Linked DNA regions of Homo sapiens: all the other regions are linked to region 3. The links are contacts of gene promoters, found by promoter capture Hi-C in blood cells and fetal thymus (Javierre and others, 2016). All regions are on one chromosome and are shown on one strand. Each heading gives the region's core, a stretch centred on a gene start or on the middle of the fragment in contact. The rest is flanking DNA. Distances are from core to core; before and after follow the strand shown.

Evidence for each region. Contacts are between HindIII fragments. The CHiCAGO score rates a contact against its expected background, and 5 or more counts as called.
Region 1: a contact is called between a fragment that was not itself captured here and the fragment with the promoter of RAB3GAP2 in region 3, in 1 of 17 cell types (activated CD4 T cells). The highest score is 6.1, in activated CD4 T cells.
Region 2: a contact is called between the fragment with the promoter of ACBD6 here and the fragment with the promoter of RAB3GAP2 in region 3, in 1 of 17 cell types (non-activated CD4 T cells). The highest score is 7.4, in non-activated CD4 T cells.

What each region holds. Positions count from the first base shown.
Region 1 is chr1:244,857,712-244,860,211 of GRCh38, reverse strand. It overlaps HNRNPU (heterogeneous nuclear ribonucleoprotein U), which reads left to right. Exons shown (of 14, transcript NM_031844.3): 5 at 838-937; 6 at 1,371-1,483; 7 at 1,938-2,201; 8 at 2,495-2,500. Among named protein-coding and RNA genes, the nearest start is that of SNORA100, 4.7 kb to the right of the region's middle. The HindIII fragment of the contact is 609 bases long and covers 946-1,554 here.
Region 2 is chr1:180,501,299-180,504,346 of GRCh38, reverse strand. ACBD6 (acyl-CoA binding domain containing 6) reads left to right here and starts at 1,770. Exons shown (of 8, transcript NM_032360.4): 1 at 1,770-2,302. The coding sequence starts at 2,081. RefSeq lists a silencer at 1,703-1,802 and enhancers at 2,013-2,202, 1,724-2,224, 2,332-2,847, 2,848-3,048. The HindIII fragment of the contact is 1,534 bases long and covers 873-2,406 here.
Region 3 is chr1:220,270,708-220,273,708 of GRCh38, reverse strand. RAB3GAP2 (RAB3 GTPase activating non-catalytic protein subunit 2) reads left to right here and starts at 1,256. Exons shown (of 35, transcript NM_012414.4): 1 at 1,256-1,486. The coding sequence starts at 1,372. RefSeq lists an enhancer at 2,661-3,001. The HindIII fragment of the contact is 3,718 bases long and covers 1-3,001 here.

The sequences.
Region 1 (2,500 bases), core at 1-2,500, about 25 Mb before region 3:
CTCCTTGCTTCAGTCTCTCAAGTAGCTCGGACTAGAGGCACACACTACCACACCTGGCTAATTTTTGTATTTTTAATAGAGATGGGGTTTCACCACGTAGGCCAGGCTGGTCGCCAACTCTTGACCTCAGGTGATCCACTGTCTCGGCGTCCCAAAGTGCTGGGATTACAGGCATGAGCCACTGTGCCCAGCCTTTTTTTTTCCTTTTTAAAATAGTGACAAGGTCTCACCATGTTGCCCAGGCTGGTCTTGAACTCCTAAGCTCAAGTGATCTGCCCGCCTGAGCCTCTCAGAATGCTGGAATTACAGGTGCTTCATACTGCTAAGTTATCAAAGGTACTTATTTTTGAAGCTTCCTGTAAATTAAAAGAGGAGCTTGGAACCTTCATTTTGTTGTGACAGTTAATCACGGTTGTTATGTTAGAACTTGCCATGCAGAGCTAGGCGATTTTTTATTTAGGGTACTTCATTTTTATCAAGCATTTGAAAGGGCCACCAAAGAGTTAAAAATAAAATTTGGTTACATTACTGCTTTTGTTGGTGAGAAAAACATTAATTGTATCCTTTAATTGGCTTTAAGTTAAAGACTGACAACATGAACTTTAAAAATATTAAGTATTCTTTTAAATATGGGTCAAATAAGTATTTAACTCTTTAAATTTCAAGTTATAAGCACATCAGTTTAAAGTTCTTACAAATATTGGGGGTGGGCTAGAGTGTGCCTTCTTTGTATTTATAGCTAGAGGAAGATTAGCCCGTGGCGCAATGAAATATGCGAGAGTTAAGGGGTTACCTCCTTGGTGTATTATTTTAATTATTTAATGATTTGACTTTCAGGTTACAGAGAAGATCCCAGTAAGGCATTTATATACAAAAGATATTGACATACATGAAGTTCGTATTGGCTGGTCACTAACTACAAGTGGAATGTTACTTGGTAAAGCTTCTTTTTGACTGATGTGGGCTCATGAATGTTCAGGAGGGTCTGATTTCAGTGTTTTTTAACTAGAGGGCATTCTAAGCCTTTTGTCTGTTTTTATCTATTCTGTTAATACTTCAGACAGGTAATATTAGCACATAGTAGGCACAGGCTACATTTTAGTTTTTGTTCCTTTATTAGAAGTTTATGACCAATGGTTGAAATAAAATCTTACCCGTGATATGCAAATCGTCAACTAATTTGGTCTCTGCGTATATATCCCTCCTAACTTCCATCAATTCTGGTACAGAGATAGAAAAGTAATAGTGTCAGTGACAGGTGATTAGGTTATATGCTTATTTCTCTTGTAGCCTACATCTTAAGTAGTAAAATAGATGAGTCTTTGGACTATTTTAAACATCTACTTCATGAAGATTAATTATTTTCTTAGGTGAAGAAGAATTTTCTTATGGGTATTCTCTAAAAGGAATAAAAACATGCAACTGTGAGACTGAAGATTATGGAGAAAAGTTTGATGAAAATGATGTGATTACATGTTTTGCTGTAAGTTAAAGCTAACTTTCTATGTATAAATGGCAAAGTTAGTAGCTATATCTAGGAACTTTAAAGAAGCTTTACTGAGGTCAGTTTTCAATATGAGCAACAAAATACACCAGTCCCTGGATTAGTGTAAAGACTTCATTCAGCAGTTGAATTGGGAAAACACAGGACATTTTTGAGGAACTCACTAATTCATTTTGACTGAAAACAGTGAACATGAAATTGACCTAGAAAATTCAGTCTAGCTTCTAGGTCAGTATTGTTTCTGGTTCTGGAGATACGTGCTTCATGGTTTACAACCATCAGATTTCTTAACTGTGTAGCCCTTAAAGGCCACCTAATAGTTCTTTAACCTGTAGCTTCCACAGGATAAGCTTTGCTCCTAATTTTAATTCTTAGTTTTTTAGAAAGTTTAAGGAAGCAGATTTTAACTGTTGAATTTTTTTCTGTGTAACAGAACTTTGAAAGTGATGAAGTAGAACTCTCGTATGCTAAGAATGGACAAGATCTTGGCGTTGCCTTCAAAATCAGTAAGGAAGTTCTTGCTGGACGGCCACTGTTCCCGCATGTTCTCTGCCACAACTGTGCAGTTGAATTTAATTTTGGTCAGAAGGAAAAGCCATATTTTCCAATACCTGAAGAGTATACTTTCATCCAGAACGTCCCCTTAGAGGATCGAGTTAGAGGACCAAAGGGGCCTGAAGAGAAGAAAGATTGTGAAGTAAGGGATTTTTTTTTTTTTAACTGTGGCATTTGAATATTGCTTGCCTGGCACAAAATGACATTTAGAAGAACTAGATGATTAGTCTGTTTCATTTACTTTGTGCTGTGCATATTGCTCTTAAGTAATTGTTTCCCCCTTATGTTGACTGTTAATCTTTCCATAAACAAATTTTTGTCCGTTAGTGTAAGGGCTATGAAAACTTAGATATTTAAATTGGCCTTAACAATATTTAAAGAATTATTAGGTGGTGTCTACTGACAGTGAAATGACATTTCTTTTCTTTTCACTAGGTTGTG
Region 2 (3,048 bases), core at 521-3,020, about 40 Mb after region 3:
GTACCAATTTATGCTCACACCAGCAGTGTAAAAGAATTCTGGTTGCTCTCTTTCCCATGTTATGTAAACTCTTCCAGAATACAGAAAAAGATGAAAACTTCTAAATGCATTCTACAAGGATTCTATTACCTTGATACAAAATTGAGAAAGTATAGAAAAGGAAAACTATAGGTTAATGACATCTTTAAATGGAACTGTAAAGATAATGAAAATATTAGCAAACTGAACCTACAAATTTTTTAAAAAAACCAAACCAGGACCAGAATGGGTTTATTCCAAGAACAGAAGTAATGCTCAAAACTAGGAGGTTTTGAAATAATGCATACTAATTTATCAATGTTAGCTATTATATAATTCATTAAATCCCAAATTTATTTTTGTTAATATAATTCATTAAAATAGAAACTGTTAATATAATTCCTTTCGAAGACTAGAGGAGAAAAGCAGATAATCTCCAAAGATGCCAAAAAAGCCGTTGATAATATTCAATTCTCACTTTAATAAAAATTCTAGAAACAAAGATATAAAAGTCCATGTTATATCTCCTTCAGTCTACTTGTCGGGTTCATCATCCATTATTACCCCACATGAAAGCTAACTTCTTTTTCCTTGCTCCTCCATTTGCTAGCTGTGTAGCCTTTGACAAGTTACTTAACCACTCTGTGCTGATTTCCTATGTGTAGTAAAATAAGAGTACCTACCTTATGTTGTAATGATCAAGTCCTCAATACATTATTCTTAATCACTTTTTAATTGCAAGAATTTGGTCATTAAACATCCCTTTGACTGGATTGCGAGCACCTTGACAGCAGGGACTAACAGTGGAACTTTCTGGAGACTTAAGGAATGTCTGTTGAATCCTGATGCAAGCTTTCTCACCTTCCTGTGTTCTCTCATTGCTTCCTCATCCTGTCCAGCCGTCCGTCCACCCGTCGCAAGCCTAACCCCAGTCAATAACCACTGTTTACAACACTTTCTTTGTACCCTTCTTATAGTGCTTATTACATTGTTTTGAATACTAAATGAATATATAGTGCGTCGTTGTGTTTAACATTTAGGACATAACCACTCATAATGTTACAGTTAAAAAAATAGTTTTGTGCATTCCTCTAGGGCCGAACTGTGCCGTACTTCTGGTTTCACTGTACAGTGTCTACAAAGCACAGTGTCAAAGACAGAGCTCGGGATGAGAACTGGGCTAAGGCGCGCCCCGAACTCCCCAAACCCTATTATTCAGGGCCCGGAGAGGTGCGGGCTCCGAAGGTGTGGAGAGCGAAACACGCAGAGCAGTGATTCCACTCATCAGTCACACAGTAAGACGGGACAGCCCCATCTCGCAGTTTTTCATTATTCAACACAGAGCCCAACGCGCACGCAACAGATCCGCGCGCAGGGCTGTTTGGAGGCGCTTGGGGCGCACAATCTGGGGCAGGCGGAACCTTAGTCCTCAGCCTCGCGTTTCCCGCGACTCCGCTCTCACCGCTACACTACCACACAAACGGCCTCCTTCCCCCACCCCCGGGGGCCCATCCCGGTGGCGGGCTCCGGAGCTCGGGACTGCTAATTTCAGCGAAACGATTAAAAGACGCCCCTACAGCTGACGGCACTTTCTCTCCTCCGGCAGGGAAGGACGTCCAGCGTAGCGTCGCCCGCGCTTCCCCGCCGGCGCAGAGCAGGCCTCACAGAATCGCACGCCGCTGGCACGCACGCCGCCCCGCCCCCACGGCCCAGCGCCAGCCGCGCCCCGCGCTCGCACGCATCCCGGCCTCACTGCCCCTCGACTCCTGTTCCGTTGGAGGGGCCTGAGGCGAGCCTGAGCGCGCTGTTGGCCGGAGGGAAGCCGGAGGAGACCGGGTCGACTGGGCAGAGCGGCAGAGGGTCGAGGAGCCTGCTCTGCACGCCCAGGGAGTAGAAGTGGGCAGGGAGCAGGGTCACGTGAGGGAGCGCGCCGCGACTGAGCTTGGGTCCGACTGGAGCTCAGGCTCGCGACCCAGACTGGTGGGCCAGGCCTCCAAGCCGGCCTTACACCCAATCCAAGGAGGACAGACCGGACACAGAGGGACGGAGCGAGCAAGGAGACATGGCTTCATCATTCCTGCCCGCGGGGGCCATCACCGGCGACAGCGGTGGAGAGCTGAGCTCAGGGGACGACTCCGGGGAGGTGGAGTTCCCCCATAGCCCTGAGATCGAGGAGACCAGTTGCCTGGCCGAGCTGTTTGAGAAGGCTGCCGCGCACCTGCAAGGCCTGATTCAGGTGGCCAGCAGGGAGCAGCTCTTGTACCTGTATGCCAGGTACAAACAGGTAAAGTAGCAGGGAGAGGGTGGATGGGGGAGAAAGACACGGAGCCTTCTTCCTCAACAACTGATAGCAAGCATGTATGGTTAATAGCTAGGTGTAATGAAGCTTGTGTATGTGTATTTTGTTTTGTTTTTTTTTTTTTGACCATCTGCTGGGGATGAGCATCATCCTGAACGTGGAAAAGATGTTTGCTTTCTTAGGAGTGATGTTTATTTAGCTGGACACTGGACATTGTTTTTGTGTTTTTTTCTCTGACTTATTCAGTGATCTTGCATTTTACCAGCCCAAGAACCTTTACAAAATGAGGATAAAATAAGATATATCATTCATTTACTCTTTCCCAGAGGGCCACATGGAAGTAAATACGGTAAAGTTAATAAAACTATATAGAGATCCAAAAAGATAATAGGATTGTAATAATGTGATGCAGGGCTGGGCGTGGTTGCTCACGGCTGTAATCCCAGCACTTTGGGAGGCCGAGGCGGGAGGATCACCTGAGGTCGGGAGTTGGAGACCAGCCTGACCAACATGGAGAAACCCCGTCTCTACTAAGTTAGCCGAGCGTGGTGGCGCATGCCTGTAATCCCAGCTACTCGGGAGGCTGAGGAGGCGGAGGTTGCGGTGAGCGAAGATTGTGCGCCATTGCACTCCAGCCTGGGCAACAAGAGCGAAGAAACTCCACCTCAAATAATAATAATAATAATAATGTGATGCAATGCAAAATGCAGTATTACAACTTTTATTGTGAT
Region 3 (3,001 bases), core at 7-2,506:
ACAAAGTGGATGGCCTCTTTAGGTTTCCTTTAGGAAATGTGTAAGTGCCTACAGGCCTTTGTGCTCACATTAAAATAATTTTTTTTGTTTTTATTTTTTGGAAAAATAACTTAAAGTCTGCTCAGAGACAGCTCAATTTCTTTATTTTAAAAATGGGATAAGACACACTATTTTTAGATGGCATTTGTGACTATCCAAATGAACAATGTAAAGTACTTTCAAAAATAGTGCTTTGTCAAAGAAACAAGTTATTCTATTTACTTTATGTATGCATTCCATTTATTTCTTCAGCAAATATTTATGAAGCACTTACTAGCATGATCACAATTTCAGTTAAATAGTTAAGTACAGTAGTCCCCCCTTTATCCATGGGTTCATTTTCCACATAATTATTCAATTTAATTATTAGTTATTGTTAATCTTTCACTGTGCCTAATTTATAAATTTAACTTTATCATATATATGTATAGGTAAAAACATAATACACATACATAGGTTTCAGTACTATCCATGGTTTGAGTCATCCACTGGGGATCTTAAAACATATCCCCTTGGATTAAAGGGAAATACTGTAATTAATTGCTTACTGCCTGTATCAGTCACTAGAATTCCAGCTTTCTGGGAAAAGGTACTTCTTCTCTTTTGTTCTCTAATGCTCAGCACCCTGCGTGGCTGGCATTTAAAAGACTAACAAATATTTGTTGAATGGATGGATGAATGCATGAATGAAAAACCAAATGAATAATGAAAACAAAAGTGTATAATACACTATAACACGTACTATATTGGGCTTGCGTAGTACTATGGGAATCTATAGTAGGAGCATTTAAAGCCAGCCTTGACGGGGCTAATCTCCGGAAGAGCAATTAATCTTTTCAAAATCCGACTCTTGCAGGATACGGTCCCCCACTGGCCTGCCACTAGTTTAAAACGAATTAGTTTCTGTGAAACATCAGGATCGTGCCAATAGTAGGGGACCAATAAGACTGAATAAGTCAAAGGGCTGCGCGGACAAGTCCAATTAGAACACCTCTGGCTAAAAGCCAGAATGAATGAAAGGGTTCATGCCTCGGCGTAGACACACAACTGGGACTGAAAAATCTGCCCCAAGCCTCCACGTCGACTTTGGCTCCACCTGCAGCGGCGGCGCCGTAGTCACGTGACCCGGGCCCCCGCGCCCTAGGCGCCTGGGCCAGCCTGCGCCTGCGCAGTACTCGGAGACAGCGGACCCGTGTCAGTGACAGCTTCCGGTTTGGTTTCTCCGCCTTCTGCTTGGCTAGAGCTATTGGGGCTCGGTGGCGGCCGCAGTGGGGTGGAGGGGGCAGGGCGTGGTGAGGTAAGGTGAGTGCCGTAGTGGGGTTCCCTGGAGCCATGGCCTGCTCCATTGTCCAGTTCTGCTACTTCCAGGACCTCCAGGCCGCCCGGGACTTCCTCTTTCCTCACCTGCGGGAGGAGATCCTCAGCGGCGCCTTGCGGAGGGACCCCAGTAAGTGCCTCTCTGGCCTCGCCCTTCCTTCCCTCGTCACCCGCGGCCTCTGCTCACGGGTTCGAGTCTCCTACTCGCTCTGCGCCTCCTGCCTCTGCCCTCTGGACCCCCAGTTCTCCCCGTGCCTCCCCTCCGCTCCGGGATGACACCCTGCCCACCTCGTCCTGAAGCCCCATTTGTGTTGTCTTCCTCTCGACCCAGCTTTTCTCCTTAGGCCCTCTGACCCCTGGCTAAAAACTGCGTCTTGTTTCCTCTCGCCTCTGCCTATCACCGCTTTCTCCCTCCCTCCCCCCACCCCCACACATTCCTAGCTTTCTCTCTGAGTATCTTCTCCGTCTCCCATCTTCAGCCTGGGGTCGTTCCCTGTTTCATGTTGCCTGCTCCGTGATCGCATCCTCCCCGTTCCTTGCCACATGTCAGCGCTCCACTCTGGTATTGCCCCAGCTCCCACTCTCTTCCATCCCGGAGACTGTGGCCTTCTGCTACCTCCCATTCCGAAAGTGTTGATCATCCCCCCACACTCTCCCTTCTTTCATCTGCATTTCCCCCATTCAGATTTTGAGAACAAATGGCTGACAAATGAGTGACTCTTGAGGTAAGACTCTCTCAAAGAAGGAAAATAACCTGTCAGGAAGTGAACGAGAATCTACATTAGGAACTAAAATTACAGTGACATAGCCAAGAAAGGTTAATTTGCTTTATTGAAGCCTTCCACCTATTTTTATCATCAAAGTGTTTAATAAGCCTTTCCCCAAGTAGTATAAAGTTCCAAGGCTGGTTTATTAGATACTATATAGGCTTTCAGAATTTCGTACATTTCATTTTGAAAGGGTGTGCCTTGTGTTTTATTTTATTTTATTTTATTTTATTTTATTTTTGCATTTCCAACCTGAAGCACATTTGGCTTTGTAGTACAGCGCTCTCACTTTGTGCTATACCGGAATGGTGATATAAAGCCCACTAAGCTCCTCTCCCTTTTTTAGAAAATTTAGAAGATATCAAATCGAACCCATCTGTGAATGATTGCATACTTTGTGCCAGTCATTGGTGCTACAAACCAAATAAGGTTGGTGGACCCTGCTGTAGGAACTTCTGGTTTACAGACAAATCATTAACTTCCATTCAGTGTGACTGAGATATACATGAGGCATTTTCTTGAAGTGGTGATACTTAAGCCTACCTTTGAAGTACTAGTTAGAGGAGTAAAGGAGCAGTAATAGCATGTGCAGAGGAAGGGAGGCCTGAAATGGCATGGTATTTAGAGAACTAAGAAAAGCTGAATGGCTGGAGAGGAGGATGGGAGAGGAAGAGTTGGGGCAATGAGGCAGTAGTAGTAATAAGGAGCTAGACCATGAGAGGCCTTGTGAAAATTGTGGCGTTTCTCTGAAAGTTTAAGTAGAGAAATGACATTGTCAGATTTGTACTTAATGTAATCAACAACATTTGTTGAAGACCTGTAATGTGCTCTGGTAGCAAAGTGGAGGAGAGATTGGAAGAAGGGAAATGGATTGGGAA